Linked DNA regions of Homo sapiens: all the other regions are linked to region 3. Evidence: promoter capture Hi-C in 16 types of primary human blood cells and fetal thymus (Javierre and others, 2016). All regions are on one chromosome and are shown on one strand. Each heading gives the region's core, a stretch centred on a gene start or on the middle of the fragment in contact. The rest is flanking DNA. Distances are from core to core; before and after follow the strand shown. Region 1 has its middle 24 kb from the start of LINC02687. Region 2 has its middle 5.4 kb from the start of LINC02696. Region 3 holds the start of LINC02690 (long intergenic non-protein coding RNA 2690). Region 4 has its middle 25 kb from the start of LINC02696. Region 5 has its middle 40 kb from the start of LINC02687.

Region 1 (3,339 bases), core at 576-3,075, 360 kb after region 3:
TTTGGAGAGTTTCTGGATTGCTGAACACACGGAGGTCCCTGGAGGGCAGTGTGCCCAGAGAGGGCATGGAAGCTCCACGCCTCTTCTCCCTTACCTCACTGTAGGCATCTCTTCCATCTGGCTGTTTCATTATTCTCTACATTAGACACATACACTTTATATGTGCTTCTTCATATTTCATAACAAAGCAAATGAAAGAAAAAAATCAATGAATCTTCCTTTTACCATTAAAATTATCTGATGAAATCCATGGACCCTATTCCCAAACAATTAGAAAAAGATCCAGACATTTCATTTGAATGCAGAGGGCTCATAGACCCCTTGAAGATCCTCTATGGGAAGATTCCACATCTGGTGTTACAGTTGATTTACACCCCCGTAAATCCCTGAGGCAGTGGCCATCTTTATCCAGAGCAGCAATGTGGCCCAGGAAACAAACAATCTGGGCTGGGATGGTCCAGTGACGTCAGAACCAAGCCCGCACCCCTAAAGAGGAACTCTGCACGTAGGCAGATCCCCCACAGCCAACCCTAGCCCCCTTTCCTCCCTACTTGGAGCATTTCCAGCTCCCAAGATCCCAGGATCCTCCCTCTGCCTCCTCCAGGGCCACAGCTTTGGCCATCACATCTAGCTGCTGGGCCCTCTGCAACATAAAAAAGCATAATCCTTTGGGGAAGAGGAGTGTAAGGAAACACCAGAAGGTAGCTAATTACTTGTGTTACAAATAGTAATCTTGCTTTTTAAACCTTAGGAAGATAATGATCTGTTTTTAGTGTATTAAAGCTTAATTGTTTAAGTGAGGGAATAAAAATCAGCTTCAAAACAGGGGGAGCCTAGAAGCAGAAGAAACGTCCTTGGAAGCAGTGTTGTGAGCTAGAACGAGAGGACTCGCCATGTGGCTTCGGGGAAAACACTTCCTCCCTCTGGGCTTCAGTTGCCCATCTGTTCAATGGAGGAGTTGCACTTCTAGAAGATGCCTAAGTCATCTGCACTCCTGATGTCGCAGGGTTCTCTGGTCACCAGCTTCATTTCTCTCTGCTCTGGAACTGTGCCAGACAAGCATGGAGGCTTCCTTATAACCCAGTGCCTGACACATGGTAGGTGCCCAACTAATAGTGTTGTTGACTTGTACTGCGCTTACTCTTGTTCCCTAGTCCTCACACAGCCTATCACAGACACGAGCCTTTAGCTGGTCCTCAATACTGCTTTCCTCACCTCTAAAATGGGTAGAACCATGTAGGGCCAATGTGAGAATTAGATAAAGTATGTGCAAGCCCCTTGCCCAGTGCCTAGCACACACTAGGTACAATTTAAATGGTTCCCATCTTTTTTGTCCTTGTTCATCATTCACCTGAAAAAGTTTGTCTGTTCTGGCTAATCCCGGCCTGCTCCCTACAAACAGAGACACACGCACGCACACACACACACACGCAGACACATACTCTTTCTCATGGAGCAGCTGCTTCCTCCCCAGGACTGACCATCATCCCACTGATGTCCAGACAGTGCTGGGCAGCCAGGCACTGACTAGGCCAGTTACTGCGGATGGTCAAGAACTGCTGGTGGAAATGGAAGGCTAAGGCTCTACACCTCTCTGGATTCCCCAAGAGCCTCCGTGTGTTAGACACAGCCACCAGGGTGACTGGGGCCCCCAACACCTGCACAACACCACATCTCCCTCAGGCCAAGGTCCACAAATGTGAAGTCAAAAAGTGAGGGCGATTCTGACTGAGGAGTGTCTCTTGGACGGTGTTGGCTGTTAAGTAAGGTCAGAGGTGGGGGATAGGGAGAGAAGGCCAGAGAGAGAAGAGAGGAGGAAGGAAGAGGAAGAGGAGAAAGGTGGAAGGGAGGTACAGAGTGGAGGAGGAAAGACAGAGACGGAGGGAAGAAAAGAAGCAGGAGAGAGAGATGGGGCATAGAAAGTGGAAAAGGGAACTTCAGGTCCTGGGGTGAGGGCTTTGGACACATTTGAATTTTAAATCAGCAGCTTCCCTTGGCCTGTCCCCCTGATTTGGCCTGGTTCTAGGAGGCTGATCAAGAAAGTGAATCTCCTATGACCTCCATATGAGACTGATTGTTGGCTGGGGCTGCCCACTGCTTTTCTCACACTCAAGGAGAGACCCACACTCAGTCTCCTGGGGTATAGACCACTGAAGCCCAGGGACCAGGGCTCCCCATCTGAATGGTCAGAGGGAGGCTGCTGCAGCCCCAGCCCCAGCCCCTGCCAGGTGGCCCTCCCCATATAGGCTTCCGGGTGGTCACTGGGATGACTGTCACCAGCCCTGGGCACCGAATTGTCCCTTGAGATTTTTCTACACCCACCCAGATCTTTGGAAATAGTCCTTTTAAAAACTCCCTTCCAATTACCCAATTTGAATGAGCTTGTTTCCTGCCAGGACCAATCTGAAACAAACACAGAGTTTATAATCCTCATGTTAGCCCTGCTTCCAGGTCATCCCATTTCCAGATAAGGAAACTAAAGCCCAGAAGGTCAGAGATGGGGAGTGACTTGTCCGAAGTTGCGCAGCTAGGGGTTGGGGAGCGGGGACTGGAACCTGCCCAGCTGGGTGTTTACATTGCTCAGGCTTTAGAGAGACCGGGTGGTTCAGCAAAGGTGGACCAGGCCGGAGGTCAGGAAGGACTAAAGTTAACACTGCCCCTGCCTGTCTGGGTTCTCCTTATGCTGGAACCTCAGAGGCAGCCAGGAAACCCGCCTTCCTCACTCCCCACATCCACTACCCTCTACCCTCTGTGCCCACAACCAGTGCCTGAGGTCAGACACTCTCATTCCCTTCCTCGTGGGCATGGCCAAAGCCTCCTGGCCGGCCTCCTGCCTCCATCAGCCTCACTACAGTGGGAAAAGCTTTTCTAGAGGGATCTTTCTGGCTCACTCTGACGCTCCTCCTTCCTAGGATCTGTCTCTGCATCCCTAGTGCCTGTGGGACAAAGTCCAAAATCCTTTGGTATCAGAACCCTTCCCAGCTGGCCTTCTACACCTTGCAGTTCGGCTGTGCCCTGCCCTTCTGCACCTCCATGCCTTTCGGCAGACCTTCTCCACCCCCGGCAGCGCCCTTCGGAGTCCTCTGTTCCCCATCAATGTCCACGTGTCCCTCAAGATCCAGCCAAAGCGTGGTGCAGGGGAGGGTCTCCTTAGTTCTGCCTCCACCCCGTCTCCCCTGCCCCCGACACACACAAAGACCACCCCTCCCACTGTTGTCCCCTCGCAGAATCTGTGTTCTTGCTTCTGGTGCAGTATTTTTTTTCCTCTGCTGTCTCAACTCCCTCAGAGAATGAACCATGGCTATACATCCAGAATAATCCATGGCTCTCCGGGCCTGG
Region 2 (3,599 bases), core at 1-2,500, 400 kb after region 3:
AAACCTTGCTGATCATCTTGTCTCTTACTGCAAACTTGTTTTCCATTTTGAAGAGCAGTGGGATGTTAACGCTCTTTCATAGGGAAATGTCTTTTGTGAAAGTGGAACAAGAGGCCAGCTTTAGAAATGCATCAGGGCTTCTGCTTCCAGGAAAATGGAGTAAATGTACTTTCTCTTCTTCCTCCCACAAAGTGCAACTAAAACCCCTGGGCATTATACAAAAAACAAACATAAGAAGACTTAGAAAGGTGGAATGACTAGGAACCTTGTGATCTAAGGAGCACCATGCTGGCAAATTTTCTGGGTTTTCCTTTGCCTCATATATTCCAAACCTAGAGCTGAGGAAGCCAGTGACCCAGTAATGCTAACGGCATCAGACAAAAAAAAAAAAAAAGTCCCAAGAAAAGCCACCTTTCTTAAGATAAAGGACTAAGAATGGGGCAACTTAGCAAGACAGAAGGCTTTTGGACAATAACTGCTTGACTCCAGCCAAAGACCACCAACAAAACAAACAAAAAAGTACTTCCCCTGTATCTGCTGATATCTATCTAAATGTTTGTAGAGGAAATATTTAAGACAATTATAAGTGGGAGAAGGTAAAGGGATATAGAGGATGGTAAAAATTTCTCCACTGCATTCAAATTGGTAAAATGATGACCCCAGAGAATGCGATATTATGTATATATTAAATGAAATACCTAGAGCAACCACTAAAAAGAATATACAGAAAGACACTCAAAAACACTAGATAAATAAAAATGAGATTCAACAAAAAAGTTAAAATAACTCACAGGAAGGCAAGAAAGAGAAAACAGAAATGAGAATAGAAAATACAAAATGGTAGACTTAAACCTTAACATATCAATAATTACATTAAATGTCAATGGTCTAAATACACCAATTAAAACACACAGATTGGCAGAGTAGAGGAAAATGATGACCTAGCTACATGCCACCTGTAAGAAATTCTCACTTCAAATTTAACAATATAGGCAGATTGAAAGTGAAAGGATGGAAAAAATATATCATGCAAACAATCAAAGTGGGAGTAGCTATATTAGCATCAGATAAGGTAAATTTCAGGGCAAAGAAAATTACCAGAGATAGAGAACAATGTGACAAAATGATAAAAGGGTCAATCCATCAAGAAGAAATATCAACCCTAAATGTGTACACACCAAATAACAGCTGCAAAATATGTGAAGCAAAAAATAGATACGTTAAAAGGAGAACTGGACAAATCCACACCCCTCTCTCAATAATTAATGGGACAGCTAGACAGAAAATCAGCAAGGATATAGAAAAATTCAGCAACACTATCAATCAAAATGATCTTATCAGCATTCATAGAATGCTCCACCTGACAACAGAAGGTATGTTCTTTTTAAGTGCCCAGGGAACATACTCCAAAAATCGACCACATTCTGGGCTATGAAACAGACTTTAACGCATTTGAAAGAGTTAAAATCATACCAAGTGTGTTCTCTGACCACTGTGGAATCAAATTAGAGAACGGCAACAGAAAGATGACAGTAAACTCACCCAAACAGGTGGAAACTAAGCAACACGTTTCTAAATATTCCATGGGTCAAAGTGGAAGTCTCAAGGGAAACAAAAGAATATGCTGTACTGGATGAAAATGAAAATAAGCATATCAAAATTTGTAGAAGAGAGCTAAGCAGTGCTGAGGGAAATTTATAGCACTAAATGCATAGCATACATTAGAAGAAAGGAAAACTCTCATCAACAATCTTAGCTCCCAACTACAGTACCTAGAAAAAGAAAAGCAAATTAAACCCATAACAAGCTGAAAGAAAGAAATAATAAAGAGCAAAGTCAAGAAATAGAAAGCAATAAAACTATTAAAGCAACTAAAAAAAAAGAGCTGGTTTTTTGAAAATATTTTCTAAAGGATAAAACTCTAGCAAGACAGACAAAAAAGAAGAATATTAGGTAACATTCTAATATCACCAATATTAGGAATGAAACAGAGGATATTACTACAGGTTCTCCAGAATAAGCAAGATAATAAAGGAATACAGTTGACCCTCTTCAGGAGGATGAAGGCACACACTCTCAAGTCAGGCTGCCAGATGAGCCATTACAACATGGCATGTTGTAATGAGGTAACATTTGGGAATGATGGATATGTTCATTATCTGGATTATGGTAATGGTTTCATGAGAGTATACATATGCCAAAACTTATTAAATTGTATGTTTTTAAGTGTTCAGCTTATTGTAGGTCACTTAAATAAAGGTTAAAAGAAAGCATTATCAAATCTTAATCTTTGCCATATGTATTTATTTCAGATTCTCCACTTACAAACACAGATCATTTTTTTATCCCAAACCTATTTTCCCCCATTTCCTATATATAAGCACTAGGAAATTGAATTTGGTGTTTTTGATCCCCACGCATAATTTTCTATATTAGTGCAGAAGTCTTTATAAACATTATATAACATAGTTTTGTATTACTTAATATTGTACATAAATGAAGTATCTATCATTCTGTAATTTGCTTTCTTTGTTTAACATATTTATGAATAAATTACATAACTTTAACAAAAACTTAAGGGAGGTATTATTACCATTTTACAGATGGAGAGAGAAACTGAGGTTCACCCTGATTAGGTGAACCATTTCTTGCCAAAGGTGATTATGAAGCCAGGATTGAGCCAGGTCTGACCTGGGTCAAAGCCAGAGCTTTAAACAGTGACCACAGGTACTTTGGGGGAGATTTTCCTCAAGGGCTCCCTTGTTTGTGCTTCCTGGGATTGTCATGAGCAGCACCCTTCCAGGCAATTTGCTCTTCTAGACTGTTCTAGACCACACTGGTTTGTCTGGCTACCTGGCATTCAGGTTGGGTCAGGCATTGCTTTGCCATATCCAGCTGTACTTTGCCGGGATCAAAGATAGTACCTTTGCCCTGCCTTGCTCCTTCTATTAATACTACTCCCTGGTCTAAATAAGGCCTGCCTTTTTTTGTCTAGATAGGGCTTCTTAACCTCTTTCATGTCAGGGATACCTCTGGCAGGGAAGCCTAGGGGCACCTTGGAATAAAACTTTTTAAATGCTGAAGACACATATGATTACAGCCTTATTGAAATACAAAATATATTTTAAAATGGTGATTGAATCATACATATGCTCCTTTTTTTTTTTTTTTGAGATGGAGTCTCCCTCTGTCACCCAAGCTGGAGTGCAGTGTTGCGATCTCAGCTCACTGCAACCTCTGCCTCCTGGGTTCAAGTGATTCTCCTGCTTCAGCCTCCAGAGTAGCTGTGATTACAGGTTCCTGCCACCATGCCTGGCTAATTTTTGTATTTTTAGTTGAGACAGGGTTTCACCATGTTGACTAGACTGGTCTCGAACTCCTGACCTCAAGTGATCTGCCTGCTTCAGCATCCCAAAATGCTGGGACTACAGGCGTGAGCCACCATACCTGGCCGATATATGCTTCTTTATTTATGCTTTTATGTTACAAGGTCTAATAGTGGATCTAATTGCCAATTTTGCTGCACAGATGAGCCTGAGCTTGATTTCAACATATCTGTAGCAACTGTAATACATGAAAATGTCGGTGATTTCTATTGG
Region 3 (3,065 bases), core at 202-2,701:
GTTAACGTACTTGATTTTCATCACTATAAATCCCATTGTATGACCAATCATCCCAAACATTTAGCATTTTCCTTAAGTTATAAAAGTAAACCAGGCGCGGTAGATCACTCCTGTAATCTCAGCACTTCGGGAGGCCAAGGCGGAGGATCGCTTGAAGCTAGGAGTTCAAGACTAGCCCTGGCAACATAGCGATAATCCGTCTCTACAAAAAATACAAAAACACTTTGGGAGGCCCAGGCGGGTGGATCACCTGAGGTTGGGAGTTCAAGACCAGCCTGGCCAACATGGCGATACCCTGTCTCTACTAAAAAATACAAAAATTAGCCAGGCGTGGTGGCGGGTACCTGTAATCCCAGCTACTCAGGAGGCTGAGGCACAAGAATTGCTTGAACCCGAAAGGCGGGGGTTGCAGTGAGCCGAGATAGTGCCACTGCACCCCAGCTTGGATGACAGAGTAATACTTCATTTCAAAAAAAGGAAAAAAAAACCCCCAAAAACAAAAAAACTAAACAAATACAAAAAATTAACTGGGCAGGTGGCACACACCTATAGTCCCAGCTACTCAGGAGGCTGAACTCAGGAGGCTGAGGGGAGGATTACTTGAGCCTGGAAGGTCAAGGCTGCAGTGAGCCGTGATGTGCCACTGCACTCCAGTTTGGGTGACAAAGCAAGAGCCCGTCTCTCTTGGGGGCGGGAGGGAAGCGCACTCTTGTAACATCTCCAAATGGTTGAGAAGTAAAGTGAAACGCCCCCCTTCTCTAACCCTATTGGTCAGTCCTGCGACTCCTGGGTAATGGCTGCTAATGGTTCCTTATGTGTTCTTCCGCCCGTACGCCTTTGCATTTTCAACGTGTATGCATGTACCAAAATTGATGTAACTGGCCTCCATTACGGGACATTTAGGTTGTTTTCCATTATCTACTGCTGTAAATAATGCTGCAAAGATCACCTTCAGATTCAAATATTTCTGCAGGCAGCGTCTTAGAAATGGGATTGCTGGGTCACAGAGAACATCCACTTAAAATTTTTAATGAACACTGCCAAACCGTCGTCAGGGAAGACTTCCAGCAAGTCTCGTACTGATGTGGAAATATCTGTTCTCCTCCTTTGAAAGTGGGTCTGGATCTTAATTTGTCGCTGTGGCCCTGGCATGTAGTAGGCTCAGTAAATGCTTGCTGAGTGACCCTACGGGTTATCAAGCCCTGGCTCTCTATTTTCTCAGAAAAAAAGCAGCCCTTCTGCCCCTAAAAAAAGTCTACAAAGTCAATCGTGAGACCAGACCTTGACCTGTTCCGTTTGGCGCTCTGGATTGCGGAGCATACCGAGGAGTCCTGGGTACTTTCTTTGTTAAGTGGGGTGTGTGTGGTTTTTGTTTTCAAAGCTGGCCTGGAGGCTCTGGGTTGCCATGGCAACTGATGAGCAGGGCCGCCTTTTCCCTTCCCTCCATCTTGGGAGCCCTGGTTGCCATAACAACTGATTGGTCCTCTCCTCTTCCTCCACCTCTGCCACAGGGCTCCAGCTTCCCTCTGGGGGCACCACTGTTCTTAGGTCTGGGGCAACCCTGATTTCACTTGACCCATGTACCTTGGGACCCTCTTGAGAGGAGATGTGAGCGAGGCCATTACTGGGGAGGGTGACGGCAGAAAACAGCATGGCCACTGGGAAGGGGAGAGGGCTCAGGTGGAGGAAGAGTGAGGTTCCCTGCTCCGACCTAGCTTGGGAGAATCAGTGTTGCCTGGGGACCAGAGGGGGAAGCAAGTTCCTCTGAGGTTCAGGGGTGGTTTTGGGGATCAGTGAGTTACAGGGACTGTGAGGTCTCAAGCATTCTTCCTCAACATTTCCTGTTGTAGATGGCAGAGCAGATGCAACGGCACCCCTGAGCTGCCCTCAGGGGGTCCTCAGCCTTGGAGGAGGCAGGAGACCTGGGCTATGGAGCCACTCACAGGCCCTACTGAGAACAACTTGGTGTCCATCACAGTCCTCTTCAGAATGCCCAGAATATGGGGATAAGAAGGTGAAACCGGCATGTTTATTAACACAATGGAATATTCTGTGGCCAAATCAAAGGAAGACGTTGAGGATTCTGGTGACACCTGGAAACGTACTGCTAAGGGAAAAAAGCAGGACCACAATGTTATGTGGATATTGACTGCGACTATATATAATGCCAGCGTGGACTTCTCAGAGATGGAATTTGGAGGAATGTAATACAGATGCAAATAGAGTTTTCCCCACATTGCCTTCTCCCGCGGTGTTTCTTCATCTCTGTCAACAGCCTTGCCACCTACTCTGTTGCCCAAACCAGAAACTTGATTCAAACTACACTTCTCCCTCTGCCCTCATGCCCCGTTCCTGTTAGTCACAAGTCCTGCTGGTTCCAGCTCTGAGACAGCTTTCAGAGTACTCCTCCTCCTGTTCCCACATTCACATCCCTAGGGGACTCTCTCCTCCCAGCGTGTCTGTTCCCCCGCATGCCCCCCACGCTCTGCTCCCCTGGCACCTCTGCCATGCTGCTGCCCCAGGGCAGATGTGGCCAAGGGGCTCCTCTCCTCCCACTCCTCGTTTGCTCCAGGATCAAGGACACACTTCTTGGCCCATTGAAGGCCCTTCCGGATCCACTTCCTTAGCCTAGGCTCTAGCTTCTCCCTGCTTGCAGCCATGCAGCAGGAGGCTCTCTTTATTCCTCTTTGCCTGTGAAGATAGCTGCCTCTGGCAGGAATACCCTTTGCTGCCTCATCTGCCTGGTCAACTCCTATCCCCCATTTCAGATTTTGCCCAAGACTTTCTAAGACAGTAGAAGAAAGGTTTCCACTCCTTTCCCCTCCTGAAAACTGTACAGAAACCACAGGAGAACAGGAATAGAAGCCTGAACTCCGTCTTTGGTGGAACATGGAGACCTCCCTACTCTTGAATCTCAATACGTGGAGGGGGAAGCTGCTGGAGGAGGATAAAGCGCTCAGCAGAGAGGAGAAACATCAAACCTCTGTACTTACCAGTGGGGAAGGCACTATAGAAATGAGCTGATTTTCTCTACAGAGACCCAGAAAGGGTCCAGGATCAGAGGC
Region 4 (3,244 bases), core at 117-2,616, 420 kb after region 3:
GTGGCCAGGACTCTCTCCATAACCCTGTCCTTCTCTTGCCTTTGAGGAAAGCATACTTCACTGTCAGTTCTTCAGCCTGGGTGGCAGGGATGAAGGCAGAAGTTAAATAATAAAGAGGAAAAGGTTTTTTTCTAGAAATCAATGACTAAAGACTGGGAAGAGAATTCCTAAAACTCAAGTCAAGGACTGTCTCCTTTCGAAAACGGTGTGTACGAGAACATACGGCTCTCTGACCATCCACACAGACTCATGAGAAGGAGAGGAAGGACACCTCTCACTTCTGAACACTGCCTTGAAGCTTAGAGAAGTCAGATGTGACTCCCGAAGCTGAGCCGACATTCCAGGGCTCCTGGGAAATGTATCAAGTTGTGTGCAGTAGCATGGCTGCCCCACTATCTTCTGACTTTTGATGCATGGCCTGCCATTAGGGCACAGGCCTGTAGTGTTATCACTGGGGGCTGGGCTTTGGGGTACATGGAGAGCTTCAGGAAGAGGGAGGATGAAGAGTAAATCTGGGTTTCCTTCCTTAGCCTTGGTTCCCAGCCTCCCTCCTGCCTCTAGACCCTGGCATCCCCATGCTGGGTGTCAGTTTATCTCTTCTGTCCTGTTTCCTTCACCTGTCCAAACCCTTCTAGTCATCAAGGCATACCACCCCCAACCCCAGTCTCAAAGCTGCCACCAACATTCTCTCCAGGCCTCACAGTGTCTCTCTGCCCTCCACCCATTTGCTCATATAGTCTGGAGATAACAGAGGTCAGCATTTGTTCAGCAGAGGGAAAACACAGGCTTTGGCATTAGAAAACCCAGGCTTGAGTCCCTGGCCTCATGTTGGCAGGCTGCATGATCTTGGATGAATGACCACACCTCCCTGAGCTACCTCAGCCAGGCTCAGGGCTAGCTCAGGGTAGCAATGGTGAACAGTCCCTCCCTCAAAGAGCTACTGTTTTAATCTTCCCATCTGGAAGATGGACGTTGTAACAACCACTTCTCTGGCTGGTTGTGAGCATGAAGAAAAGAGGCATACAAGGAACTACTTTTGAATTTCAATGTTCCATCCCAGTTTTATTTTCCCCAACAGTTACTTCACGGTTGCCTTGTTTTTCTCATCTGCAAAATGGGGACAAATGCCTACTTATTTTAGGCACATTCCAGCAGTCTAGCAGAGCAGGAGGCATCACAGACTGTGGCTGGGAGGATGGTCTCTGGGGTCATTCTAACTGGTTTTTCATCTTGGTGCTGCTTTTTCCTGCCTTTGGGACCCTGGACAAGTTATCCAAGCCCTGTGCCTCAGTTTCCTAATCTATAAAATGGAAGATGACTGTGTCTATTTTCCAGAGTTGATGGGAGACTCCTCTATTTCCTTTGGGTGGTGTAACAAATTACTATAAACTGGGTGGCTTATAACAACAGAAAATTACACACTCACAGTTCTAGAGGCTAGAAGTCTGAAATCAGGGTGTCGGCAGGGCTGCACTCCCTCCAAACGCTATAGAGAAAATCTAGGCTGGGTATGGTGGCTCACACCTGTGATCCCAGCACATTGGGAGGCCAAGGCAGGTGGATCACCTGAGGTCAGGGGTTCGAGACCAGCCTGACCAATATGGGGAAACCCCATCCCTACTAAAAATACAAAAATTAACTGGGCGTGGTGATGTGCATCTGTAGTCCCAGCTACTTGGGATGCTGAGACAGCAGAATTGCTTGAACCCGGGAGGCGGAGGTTGCAGTGAGCTGAGATCGTGCCGCTGCATTCCAGCGTGGGCGACACGCTGTCTCGAAAAAGCAGCGAGACTCTGTCTTGAAAAAGCAGCGAGACTCTGTCTCGAAAAAAAAAAAAGAAAAAGAAAAAAGAAAATCTATTCTTGCCTTTTTGTGTTCCTTGGGTTGTGGCTGCAGAACTCCAATCTTTGTCCCTCTGTCTCTTCTTCATGGATCCCTTATAAAGGCACTTGTCATTGGATAGAGAGCCCACCTAGATAACACAGTATGACTCCAACCCAGGATTCTTAATTATATCACCAAAGATCAATTTTCCAAATATGATCATATTCACAGGTTCTGGGCATTAGGACACAGATGTATCTTTTGGGGGCCACCATTCTACCCACTCTAGAAGCCAAATAATGAATCCATGTAATGGGGTCAGCACAGAGCCAGGCACACTGGAAGTGCTCCATTGATAAGAGCTACTACTGTTGCACATCTAGAAATTGTGCCTGAAGTTTAACTCTAGAAATTGGACCCACACAAGAACAGAAACCCAAGTGTAGAAAGATTGGGTCCTTCTGTCCCTGTAGGCCTCTAGGGCTGTTGGCCCAACTTGTAGCACTGCATTTCCCAACTTAACCAGACTGATTTCAGCTTTGAGATTCCTCAAATTCTCTCTCTGTTCTGAACAGGCTTTTGTTGAAGCCCCTTATTATTGCAAAGCTTGCGTTTTGCTCCATTAAAAGCAGTCTGAAGGTGACAGCCAGTCAGAGGTTGAGAACAGGGTACCTGGCAGGAGGGAGAGAAATGTCCAGCCAAGGCAGTCCTGATGGCTCAGCCTCATGTTGGATCTCAGGCTGAAGTCAGTTTGGTTGCATCAGGGAATGCCAAGCATCAGGTTTAAGGGTCAAGGCAGGTTTTCACTGAAAAGAAAGGAGACTGCTTTCATCCTGAGTGAGAGTCAGTTCTGTGGCCGAGCTGGATGGGGTGTGTACAGGTGTTGGGGTGACATCTGGTTGGAGAAAGGATAGGAAAAAGAATGGCCTGGGTCGAGGAGAAGGGCAAGGAGGCTGCAAAGGTGGAGAGAGACCGAGGGAGCCCAGACTTTTCTTCAGACTTTACAGCAGCTTTGTGGAAGAGAAGGACCACAGGACTGCTCAGAGCCTCAGTTTTCTCAGCTGTGAAATGGGATCACAGTGGGACCTGTGCCTTCAGGACTTAGCACATTGCAAGTACACAGGCAGTGCTAAGTGATGCCTATTGATACTCCCACCAGCATCAAAAGGAACAAAAGGGCAGCCAAGGCCCTTTAGGGGTGACTGGTTCAGATCTAGGCAGCAGAAGGACCTGATCTCCAAGCTTGACCTGCCTGTGTCTGGGCTGGAAATGAAGCCAGAGGGGCAAACTTACAGTGTGCGGAAAGCAGAGAGGGGAGGTCTTTGTGCTGATGGAGAGTTGGTTCTTAAACCCCACAAAGCGTGTTCTGTTCCACAGTTTACGGGCTGGCAGTATAATTAGAAAGGTAATATTTTATAAC
Region 5 (3,440 bases), core at 676-3,175, 340 kb after region 3:
TATGTGCTCAGCACTTAGTCTTCCTTAACCGCCATAGCAGTCCTATGAGGTAGGTATCATTAGTCACATTTAACAGATAGGGAAGCAAGCTCAGAGATAGGAGTAAACTTGTTCTGGGGCGTTTAGCTGTAAGTGGGCAGAGTGAGGGTTTGAACCCAGGTCTGTGTGACTCCAAGGCAGGTTGACATTTGCACCTGGCACATGGTGGGCCTTTGTCCATATGGGCTATTTTCTTTCTTTTCTCAAATATACAAATAATGATAATCCCAAGCAGGACAAGTGAAGTGTTTTTTGTTTTTTGTTTTTATTTTTAATCTGGGCTACAGACCAGACCAGTGGTAGGCAGGGATGTCAGTGAGGTGGTGCAGTGCAGCCCACCTGGAAGGTGTTGGGAGGGCTGGGTGAAGGAGTGGAGGGGGCATTTGAACTGGGAATTTAAAAGCCACTGAAGGTCTCTGAGAAGGAAAGTGATCAGACCAGAGCAGGAAAGAATCAGCAGGGGAGGGGAGGTAAACAGGAGGTGGTAAGCCCAGTCGGGAGGTTACTGCAATAGTCCAGGCAGGGAGGAGGGGCAGGCAGGTGACAAGCTGCACACAGGGCCATACAGGCATCCAGGGCAGCCCCTGCACCCAGCTACCTTTCTGCTGGAAGGCCGTTTTCACAAGGCAGCCGGAAGCACTCCCGGGTAATCTCGTCTGGAGATGACTGCATTTCATTATAATTTAAGCCTTTCTTGGGCTTCATCAAAGGCTATGAGTGTCTTGAAAAAGAGAAGCATCTCTTTCCTCAGGTAAGGGGAAAACACGCCAGAGCTTTCTCTTCTAATATAAACTAGACAAGGAGATGCAGCTGAGCTTGGCAGAGCCTGCCGGAGAACGCTAATAGACTCGACGAGGGAAGAATTATAGAAAGAGACAGCTCCAGAGGGTGGTGGGGCAGGAAGAGAAAGAGGCCCCGAGACTGCCAGCCCCAGGTGGGCTAGTAAGGAGCTGGATCAGTGTCAGCAGATGTGGCCCGAGGGCCTGCATAGACTCAGCATCTCATCTGGCGAGAAGCTTCTCTGCCTGGAGACCAGAGAGATAAGACCCCTCGCCCCTAGCATCCTTCCGGCTGGTTTCCAGTGATCCCATTAATTATGGAGGCTCGGGGACTGGAGTGGAATCCTTAGCGTTTCCTGTATGGGAGCTCTCAGTGGGGGAGGATGGAAGTGACCTAGAAACATTTAGCCCGGGGAAAAAAATAACCCAAGCAGGTTTGACACTCCCACCTGAGGCTGGGAAGGGGTTGGGGGCTATCATGTGTATATGAGTGTTTTAAGATATTATCTCAGACAGTTTGATGTCCCATGAAACATTAAGAAGGTGTTTTGCTTTTTAAAAATCAGATTATTTTCCTTTTGCCTTTAATAAAAACCAGCACTGGTCTCTGACTCACAGGCTTAAAACAGCCTTCACTGGTTACCGAGGATGGGATTTCAGCAGTGGCACAGGCTGGAACGGTTCTCAAATAGGAAATCGAATACTGGGAAGACAAAGGAGGGGAGAGGGAAGAGGGGAGGGAGAGGCAGAGCAAGAAATAAATTTGGAGTTAATGCTGAGTGAGGGAGGGCTTCACTGCTGGCTCCCCGGGTGCTCCTGAAAGGCTGCTCAGCCCCAGGAGTGAGCAAAGCAGGAGTTCTTGGCTCCATCCTGGCAGCCCATTTGTCCCCTGCCAGCCAGCCCTCCGGACCACAGGGCTACTCTTCCCAGCTTGTGAGGGAAGCGTCCTCTGTATCAGAGGCCTTTGAATCTTAAGCAAATGCCCTGTCACACAGGAGAGAGGCTGTAACCTCCCCCAGGGAGGGCACGGTCACTCAGAGTTGATATGGTGGCTACAAGGCTGATGGTCACCAGTCATCAGGGCCTGGGAGGCAGGGTGGGAGGCAGGGTGGGAGGCAGGGCAGGAGGTCAGGTGAGAGGTGGGAGAATGGGGAAGGGGGAAGGTGAGGATTGTAAGAGAAGGTGGTCCCTGCTCTAGTCTCTCTCTCTTTCTCTCTGTGTTTGCCTTGCTTTGTCTTTCTCTTCTATCTTCCTCTCAGTCTCTGGATCATTTTATCTTATGGTCTCTCTCATTCTTTGTCTCCATCCCTCTTTCTCTGTCTGAATCTTTTCCTCATTTCAGAAAAATGGCTGAACTTGTTAAGCCAGAGATCAAACACCCCAGCGGGCTGAGTGCGGACAAGGGAACACGGCTTTAACATCTGCTGCTCTCTTTCTGTGCGACACAGAGGGCTCCCCACAGAGAGGAAGGGCAGGGAGGTGGAGGCGGGGTGTGGGTGAGAATTCCTGCAAACCTTGGCATTGTCCTGGTCGGGGGTCGGGTTGGGAGGGGTGATAAGGACAAGGGAAGGGAAATCGGACAAGAGACAGACCCACATGCTGACCAGGGTACTCACAGACAGACAGGGAAGGCCCCCACCTCGAGGGAGGAAGCAGATCCAGTGAGGGCCACCATGCCCCAGGGGAGTCAGGGGCTCTGAAGCTGCTGCCTGACAACCTCTGCACTTTGCACAGAGTGAAAGGAAATTTATAGGAGTGAAGGACGTGGACTAAAGCCCTCTGAACTAGCAGCATTAAGAATGTCATTTCAGCAAGTCCTCCTAACAGCCCTGCCAGGGTACTCTTCCTGCCCTAAAGATGCGTGAAGTCACCAGGCCAGGAATGTATGCAGTGCCCCTGGCCAGGGAGGTGCAGGGCTGACTCCTTGGCCTGCACTTTTTCCAGCCATACTTATTCCTGCAGAAGATGGAAGCTTGTCTTGCAGCAGGTTCAGAATAAAGGCAATTGGGTGAGGGCGCAGCCTTGGTCTGAACCTAAAGGGAGAAGATGGAGGGACAGAGGGTGTCCAAGCCTGCTGAGAGGACCTGCCCTCCAGGGTTGCCTTTCAGAGGCAGGTTGGGAATGTAGCTCCCTGGGCCCAGGCTCATTCTGAGAGACAGGTCATTCTGTTGCTCTGAGGAAAGGGAAGGGAAGGAGGAAATGAGAGAGGGAGAGAAAGACAGGGAGAGAGAGAGAAGCACAGTCTTCCCACTTCTTTCTGCCCTCTTCCTGGAATGCGGACCTGCCAGTCGCCAGAAAGAAAAGAGAATATTTGATCAATCTATTGAGCTTACTGTGTGCCTGTGCCAGGCATGGTCACAGACAAGCTCTTTTCTCACCATCACAACAATCCCATCCCTATTTTACGGAGCAGTAAACTGAGGCAAGAAGAGCTTAAGCAATTTGCTCAAGCTCCCAGAGCTGGTAAGCAGCAGAGCCATGGTCCTCATGCACAGCCCCCACTTGCATATTTTCCTGGGCCCCAGTTCATCTCTCTCTCTCTCTTCTCCAAACATAAAGCCTGGAGCAATGAGCAATGCAGGCAGGCCCTGCTAGGGCAGTGCCACAGGGAGAGGAGAAGAT

Evidence for each region. The method cuts DNA at HindIII sites, captures the fragments that hold promoters and counts their contacts. A CHiCAGO score of 5 or more calls a contact.
Region 1: a contact is called between a fragment that was not itself captured here and the fragment with the promoter of LINC02690 in region 3, in 2 of 17 cell types (endothelial precursors and M1 macrophages). The highest score is 11.0, in endothelial precursors.
Region 2: a contact is called between a fragment that was not itself captured here and the fragment with the promoter of LINC02690 in region 3, in 4 of 17 cell types (endothelial precursors, M2 macrophages, megakaryocytes and 1 more). The highest score is 9.7, in endothelial precursors.
Region 4: a fragment that was not itself captured here is called in contact with the fragment with the promoter of LINC02690 in region 3 in 1 of 17 cell types (endothelial precursors); the score reaches 5.5 in endothelial precursors.
Region 5: a fragment that was not itself captured here is called in contact with the fragment with the promoter of LINC02690 in region 3 in 2 of 17 cell types (endothelial precursors and M0 macrophages); the score reaches 12.1 in endothelial precursors.

The regions. Positions count from the first base shown.
Region 1 is chr11:45,393,730-45,397,068 of GRCh38, reverse strand. No RefSeq gene overlaps it. Among named protein-coding and RNA genes, the nearest start is that of LINC02687, 24 kb to the right of the region's middle. The HindIII fragment of the contact is 2,080 bases long and covers 786-2,865 here.
Region 2 is chr11:45,348,220-45,351,818 of GRCh38, reverse strand. No RefSeq gene overlaps it. Among named protein-coding and RNA genes, the nearest start is that of LINC02696, 5.4 kb to the left of the region's middle. The HindIII fragment of the contact is 5,570 bases long and covers 1-3,599 here.
Region 3 is chr11:45,749,994-45,753,058 of GRCh38, reverse strand. LINC02690 (long intergenic non-protein coding RNA 2690) reads left to right here and starts at 1,451. Exons shown (of 2, transcript NR_183774.1): 1 at 1,451-1,548; 2 at 1,851-2,239. The HindIII fragment of the contact is 8,573 bases long and covers 1-3,065 here.
Region 4 is chr11:45,328,450-45,331,693 of GRCh38, reverse strand. No RefSeq gene overlaps it. Among named protein-coding and RNA genes, the nearest start is that of LINC02696, 25 kb to the left of the region's middle. The HindIII fragment of the contact is 2,132 bases long and covers 301-2,432 here.
Region 5 is chr11:45,409,866-45,413,305 of GRCh38, reverse strand. No RefSeq gene overlaps it. Among named protein-coding and RNA genes, the nearest start is that of LINC02687, 40 kb to the right of the region's middle. RefSeq lists enhancers at 858-1,519, 1,520-2,180. The HindIII fragment of the contact is 1,735 bases long and covers 1,058-2,792 here.